Regions from separate parts of the Homo sapiens genome. Here region 2 is linked to region 1. Evidence: promoter capture Hi-C in human tissues and cell types (Jung and others, 2019). All regions are on one chromosome and are shown on one strand. The core of a region is centred on a gene start or on the middle of the fragment in contact, and the rest is flanking DNA. Distances in the headings are between cores, read along the strand shown.

Region 1 (3,908 bases), core at 844-3,343:
GTTTTTCATTCTTAAATCTTACATACATCATAAGATCATTTATTAGATGAATATTTTTTAATTAATACACTTAAATTTTATTTCAGTAGCTTTTGGGATATAAGTGGCTTTCTGTGATGTGGGTGAATTATATAGTGGTGAATTCTGAGATTTTAGTGTGCCCATCACCTAGGTAGTGTATATTTTATCTAATATGTAGGTTTCTATCCCTGTCTCCCCTTCCACCCTCCCTCTTCTGAGTCTCTAAATTCCATTATATCACTGTGTTTGCCTTTGTATATTCACAGCTTAGCTCCCACTTACAAGTGAAAACATACGGTTTTTGGTTTTCCACTCCTGAGTTACTTCACTTAGAATAATGGCCTCTAGCTCCATCCAGGTTGCTGCAAAAGACATTATTTTGTTCCTTTTTATTGCTGAGTAGTATTCCATGGTGTATATATACCACATTTTCTGTACCCACTCGGTCGATGGGCACTTAGGTTGGCAATTGTGAATTGTGCTGCTGTAAACATACATGTGCAAGTGTCTTCTTCATATAATGACTTCTTTTCCTTTGGGTAGATACCCAGTAGTGGAATTGCTGGACCAAATGGTAGAACTACTTTTTGTTCTTTAAGGAATCACCATACTTTTTTCCATAGAAGTTGTACATTCCTACCAGCAGTGTTTAAGCATTCCCTTTTCCCCACATCCACGCCTACACTGTTTTTTGACTATTGTTTTTTGAGGTTTTTTTTCTTTTTTAGACAGGGTTTCAATGTGTTGCCCAGGCTGGAGTACTGTGGCACAATCATGGCTCACTGCAGCCTCAGACTCATGGGATCAAGGGATCCTCCTGCCCCAACACACGGCCCCCCGCCCCCCGCCCCCCGCCCCCCTCCCAGTACCTGGGACTACAGGTGCTCACCACTACACCCGGCTAATATTTGTATTTTTGTAGAGACGGGGTTTTGCCATGTTGCCCAGGCTGGTCTTGAACACCTGGGCTCAAATGATCTGCCCAACAGGCCTCCCAAAGTGCTGGGATTACAGGTGTGAGCCACTGCGCCCGGCCTTTTTTTCTGACTTTTTAATGATGGCCATTCTTGCAGGAGTAAGGTGGTATCTCCTTGTGGTATTAACTTGCATTTCTTCGATGATCAGTGATGTTGAGCATTTTTTCATGTATTTGTTGGCCATTTGAATATCTTTTGAGAAATATCTATTCATGTCCTTTGCCCATTTTTTGATGGCATTATTTTCTTTCTTGCTGATTTGAGTTCCTTCTAGATTCTGGACACTAGGCCTTTTTCCGATGCATAGTTTGCAAATATTTTCTCTTAATCTGTGGTTGTCTATTATTTCTTTTGATGTGCAGAAGCTTTTTAGTTTAATTAGGTCCCATTTATGTATTTTTGTTTTTGTTGCATTTGCTTTTGGGGTCTTAGACATGAATTCTTTGCTTGGGCTGATTATTAGACGAACATTTATTGAGCACCAACCATATACGACAAACGATGTACTAGGTGTTGGGAATACAATGGAGAACTTACATGAATCACCAGTCACACAAATCTCTTTTATCTTTTTTTTTTTTTTTTTGCCTTACTTGAGAATTTGGGTTTTTGAGTAAACGCCATTATTCTCTCTTTTTTTAAGCACACTTTTGCATCTCAACCACCTAACACACTGCATCCCTGAGCAACCCGGAGGGGCCGGTTCCTGCACCCAGGCCAACACAACTTAAACCCCAACACACCAGAAGAGGAATAAAGGCCAACCAACTTCCGCCCACCCACTACAAACGTCGAGAGAAATTCGTAGATGAGGCCTTGTCAAAATTCAGAGGCGTCCTACGTCTGCTTTCCCAATGAGACAGTTCCTTTTTGTTTGTCTCAGAGACTGGGGTTTTTTTTTTTTTAAAAGACTGTAGGCAGAAAAAACACCCCAACCGGCTGTTGTGACAATCAAACGTGTCTAAGAAAATTCAGCCAATGAGAGTGCGAGAGTGCATCTTGTGTTGGCCAATGAGAACAGCGACCCGTGCGCAGGGCCGCCCAATGGGGCGCAAGCGACGCGGTATTTGAATCCTGGAACAAGGCTACAGCGTCGAAGATCCCCAGCGCTGCGGGCTCGGAGAGCAGTCCTAACGGCGCCTCGTACGCTAGTGTCCTCCCTTTTCAGTCCGCGTCCCTCCCTGGGCCGGGCTGGCACTCTTGCCTTCCCCGTCCCTCATGGCGCTGCTCCGACGCCCGACGGTGAGTGTGCCCGGGGACCGCTCTCAGAGGCGAGTCCGTCGGCCCCACAGCTCCCCTGTCGCTTCTCTCATCTGCTCCGAGCTTCTCCGTCCCAACCGGGGCTGCTTTTCTCTTCTCCGGAGCTCACTGCTTCGCCCGCGTCCCTGGCCCTGCGGCCGGTCCTCTCCGGCCCGCCTTTCCCCGTCTGGATTCCGCCCTCCCCTAACCCCTCCCTGCCCCGGGGTGGGAGAAGTGTAGGAAAGCGCTTCCGAGATGGCGCCTGTCAAGTGAGCCCCCAGAGCACTAGGCCTAGTACTCAGCGAGCGATCCCCGAGTGCTCTTCATTGCTAGAGAGTTATCTACTTCCACGTTCCTGGGATTTCCCTCCCCCTTTCTTACAACTCCTTGCCAACTAAGGGACCTGTGATGGCGGCTGGGAGGAGGACTGGAAGGGTTCTGTAGGCAGTAAAGTGTACGGCGTGTTTCATCAGGCAACTGCCAGGCTGTTTTTCAGATTGTTCACATTTCTTTTTGTATGAGTTTCCCATTTATTTCGGCACGCTAAGTCTTCCATGCTACGTTCACTAATAAATGGGTTTGTCCCCTTAAAAAATTAATTTCTTTACTCAAATGTAACAGAGGTTTTTGAATATAATTTGGACCAATGTGGCAGACTGAGAGAAAAGGGTCCAAATTCATTTATTTCATCCTTGCAGAGATCAAAGTGTTATGGTGTTTTGGGTATTTTTCCTGTGGGCTTGAATTGTACCGGGACCTACTTTTTTCCTTTGCCGAAAGCTAGAGGGCCCTGACACACCTGAGTTCCATCATCTTGGCTATAAGGTTAGATAAAAGCTGCCAATTTTCCTATCCAGATGAATTTAAATTGAGTCACATTACCAGGCTTCTACCCATAAGCATTACATTTTCAAACACTTTTTCAGATTGGCAGTTGCTGCTGGAAGAAATTGAAGTGTGACTTTTGAGAATCCTAATAGATTGAATACATTTAGCATTTAATTAATATCCTTTTGTGGATCTAAGTCCAACTGACAAGTAATTTTTTATAATAATGTATTCTATAACGTTATTTAATAGTCAAAACCTTTCTGTTCAGGGAAGGCTTGAGTTTCCCTGGCCCCTCTCTCTGCCTGGTAGATCCACTCAAACCCCTTGTTGGGAGTTTTATTAGAGTCGGGACCCTGAACTCTCAGGGATAGGACATGCTGGTTTTTTGCTTTTTTCTTTTTTAATGAAATGTTTATCACTTCTATAATAAACTTTTTTTGGTATGAGTTGCTTTTCCTAGCAAGTTTTATTTCCAAGCACATTATGTCTAAAGCAGGTTAAGGTCAACTGACAATTTTTATTTCATACAATTCCAACCTTCCCTGAGTTTGGGAGCTAAAACTATATTACTCAAGAAAACTACTTCCATTCTAAATGTCCTTAATATAAGAGAAAATCCATTCTATGGCAACCTCATTTTAAAAAGCTGTAGTTCTAAAAGATCATGCATACAGGAGCATTTCTTATTTGTGAAATGGCATAAGAATCAAAGCTAGTTTAGGTTTTAAACATCTGGTTTTTAAACAACCAGACCTATTATTAACTATTAATATTATAGCTTTATTATTTTTCATCTTAATTTACTTTTTACCAAGCTCTGTAAAGGAAGGTTTTTAAATA
Region 2 (3,923 bases), core at 538-3,037, 310 kb after region 1:
CTGTGATGAGAAATGAGCTATGGGGGCAGAGGCAACAAACAGTGACAACAGAAAAGCTACCTTACGTGGAGAAGAAGTTCTTTGGATGCAATTTATCTAACTGAGTTTTACAATCAATCAAACTCATCAGCTATAACCCTGCCTTTTCCTGTTTAGAAAACATTTTTACCCCTGTAATTTACAAGGGCAAGCTGGTTGGTTCTCTTGAATCCATTCTCCCCAAAAGTAGAGCAAGAAAGTTTAGAAAGGGTGTTAGAATCTGGTCTAATCAATAGCTCGATCCAGGTTATGAAGGTGTTTCCCAAGCTTGGTGCAATGTTCAGTTTAGTTCATGTATTCAGCTATTTTTTCCTCCCAATTTGTTGTTCATGTTACCCAGGCATGGTAGGAAAAACCGTAAAGGGCGACTTTCCTTGCTCGATTTCCTCTTCATGTCTGCTAACATGGGGAAAGAGCTTAGGCTTTGAAGCCAGACAAGCATGTGTTTAAATCCAGGCTCATCAGTTATTAGTTCTGAAGATGGATAGCTTATTTAAATTATCTGAGCCCCAGTTTCCTTTCCTGCAGAATGGAGGTGATGTCTCCTCCTCACAGAACTGCTGTGAGGAATTAGCAAGGGCATGTGTGCAGACAGCCCTGTCCATTGATATACAATTAATGATGACCAGTGTTAATATTGTCATCATTATCCTTCTGATCTACAATTTGATTTCTGAACAGACTGGCTGTAGAAAAAAAATGTCTTAGGCAGAAGACTGATTCAAATCTCTTGGCTGGTTTCATCCTAAGTTGTAGAAATTAGAAACTGGTATTCTGGTTTTAAGTCACTGGTAGTTGGTTACTAAAATCATTTCATCAGTTCGATTATCTGTAGGCCTAGGGTAATGTCCTGAACACAGTAGGCACGCCCATAACAACGATAATATCAGCAGTAGTAAGGAATAATTTGAATAACCCTTTAATCTATAAAGCAATTACAAAAACCATCTCATTTAACCCTCTCATAAAAACCTATGATTTAACTAAAACAAATCCTGTTATTCTTCTCATTTAGGGAAGTGGAAGATACAATAAGAGATATTAAATAACTCTCACTTTTGTGCCTTTGAACTCCCTGTTTCCTCCCTAGAAACTTCCCCTAATCTCTCTTCTATGTATGAAATTGCAACACGTTCATCAAGGACCATTTTAAGTTTCCTCTCCTCTTTTCATAGGAAAGAACTCATTCTTTTCTGACCTTCTACAGTACTTGAAGTGTGAACCACATTATTTAGTACTTCATTACCCTCTCTTTCATTTCTTCCCAATGGTTTCCTGTGTTTGAATTCTATTAAAAAACAACAGGCCGGGCACGGTGGCTCAAGCTTGTAATCCCAGTACTTTGGGAGGCCGAGGCGGGCAGATTGCTTGAAGTCAGGAGTTCGAGACCAGCCTGGCCAACATGGTGAAACCCTGTCTCTACTGAAAATACAAAAATTGGCCGGGCGTGCTGGCGGACGCCTGTAATCTCAACTACTTGGGAGGCTGAGGCAGGAGAATTGCTTGAGAATCACTCCTGGAGCTGGATTGCAGGGAGCCGAGATCACACCACTGTACTCAAGCCTGGACAACAGAGCGAGACTCCATCTAAAAAACAAAAAAACAAACAAAGAAACCAAAAACCAACTACAGCTCTGCCCCTCTGGAGGTTAGGGATCATGCAGCTGGAATGTATTTTGGGTCTTGCCACCCAGCCCCTTTCCCCTTCACACTCCCTAGCCCAGAGCTGGACTCAGAGCCAATGCCTCATGCATACTGGATTGATTCACAGAGAATTTACCTGAAATCCTGGCATAGAAAATCCATTGCAGGATAAAAATGGAGAATGACTCTTTAGGGACTGCCATCTAAGAAGCAGGGCAAAAATGTTCCTGCTAGGAAATTACAATTCAAGAAACAAACACAAGCAGGAAACACATCTCTTACATGCAGCTTCTAGCGCTGATTCTGGCAATCCCCATTATACCCTGGTAAGTTTAAGTGACTAGGACTTGACTTTAGTCACTGTGTCCCCAGCTTATGCCACTGTAACCATATGTAGGCGGGGACATCTTTTGTGGGTTCATGTCATTGTTCTTCCTGTTGCAGTGATGAGAATTAGCTTCATTGTCTAACAAAATTAAACAACCCTTAACTAAGGGAAGCTAAATAGCAACTGATATTTTTGGAGGCTCTTTCAAATTAGGACAGCTGAGTCTAACGGAAAAACAAACACATTTTATACCAAATACCAGTTGCATGTTGTTGCATACCAAATGTCAGCCTAGAGAGAATTTTTCCTTTCGTTTCTTCATTTTTATCACATTTCTTCCCAGTGCTTTATAAGATTTATTGTATAATCCCAATGATTTTAATGACAGGGTTCCTACCCCCAGTATCACTCATCCAGTGACGAAGCCAAGGAAGGCTCTTTTTTTTTTTTTTTTTTTTTTTTTTTTTTTTTTTTTTTTTGAGACGGAGTCTCGCTGTCGCCCAGGCTGGAGTGCAGTGGCGCAATCTCGGCTCACTGCAGGCTCCGCCCCCTGGGGTTCACGCCATTCTCCTGCCTCAGCCTCCCGAGTAGCTGGGACTACAGGCGCCCGCCACCTCGCCCGGCTAATTTTTTGTATTTTTAGTAGAGACGGGGTTTCACCGTGTTAGCCAGGATGGTCTCGATCTCCTGACCTCGTGATCCGCCCGCCTCGGCCTCCCAAAGTGCTGGGATTACAGGCGTGAGCCACCGCGCCCGGCCAGGAAGGCTCTTGAAGAACGTGCTCTACTGTGTTCTGGTGGGGTCACGTTCTCTAGGCCAGTACTTCTCAGACTTAAATGTGCATACGAATCAGCAGGAGGTCTTGTTAAAATGCAGATTCTGATCCTGTAGACCCAGGTTGGGACCCTTGAACTCTGCATTCCTAACAGTAGAGGGGCTCGTGTTCTTGTGCATAGATCACACTTCGACGGGCAATGTTCTAGGTAGAATTGGAGCTCAGTGGAAAGGCAGATCCCTGACAGCTTGAACAAAGATTCTTGTGTGGGAGTAGATGTGGACCCCATCACTGTAGGTCAGAAAGGTCCTTAAGTCCATGATGGCTCTGCTTTAAAGGCAGGACAACCTGGGGAGGACCTTAGTTTCTGGAGGAAAATGGGCAGCTTAGCGTATAGCAGGAGCGTATATACGACGGGCTGGGAGCTCTCCCTGGTGCTGCTTAAGACTTCCCCCAAGTCTGCTTTCCTCACAGGAGCCTCTCCCGAATTTCTGCTCTTTTGTCTAAAATGTCAGTCTAAATCCTTACTTGTAATTGTGCCCTACTTTGCCGTTGCTGCCTGGCTATACCTTGTATTTATTGCTGGCCTATACCTGGAGTCCTTGGTCCTTCTTGGGAAAAAGTATTGAGGTTTTAAAGCTCTTATCCTTGGGGACAGATTAAACCCTTAAACTATCTATCTGTCTGTCTGTCTGTCTATCTATCTATCTGTCTATCTATCTATCTATCTATCTATCTATCTATCTATCTATCTATCTACCTACCTAACTACCTACCAAAAAAGCATTGAGGTTTTAAAGCTGTTATCCTTGGGGACAGATTAAACCCTCAACCCTCTATCTATCTATCTATCTATCTATCTATCTATCTATCTATCTATCTATCTATCATCTGTCACCTATTTATATCCACTTTAATTTGATATTTTTGACCAGGAAAGGAAAAGAAAGTTCATATGGCCATATCTTTTAAACAAAATAAGGTACATAACAGGTGTTCATTGTATTTTTTTTAATTGAGGTGAAATTTCACATAACATAAAATTAAGCATTTTAAAGTATTTTTAAGTGGGCCAGGCACAGTGGCTCATGTCTGTAATCCTAGCACTTTGGGAGTCCGAGGCAGGAGGATTGCTTG

The links. Contacts are between HindIII fragments. The study calls those that stand out against the background at their distance.
Region 2: a fragment that was not itself captured here is called in contact with the fragment with the promoter of CCNB2 in region 1 in 2 of the 25 tissues and cell types used here (H1 embryonic stem cells and pancreas).

The regions. Positions count from the first base shown.
Region 1 is chr15:59,103,053-59,106,960 of GRCh38, forward strand. It overlaps CCNB2 (cyclin B2), which reads left to right and starts at 2,094. Exons shown (of 9, transcript NM_004701.4): 1 at 2,094-2,240. The coding sequence starts at 2,217. RefSeq lists an enhancer at 1,617-1,906. The HindIII fragment of the contact is 5,327 bases long and covers 1-3,908 here.
Region 2 is chr15:59,418,249-59,422,171 of GRCh38, forward strand. It overlaps a transcript of FAM81A not described here. Among named protein-coding and RNA genes, the nearest start is that of FAM81A, 18 kb to the right of the region's middle. The HindIII fragment of the contact is 6,339 bases long and covers 1-3,923 here.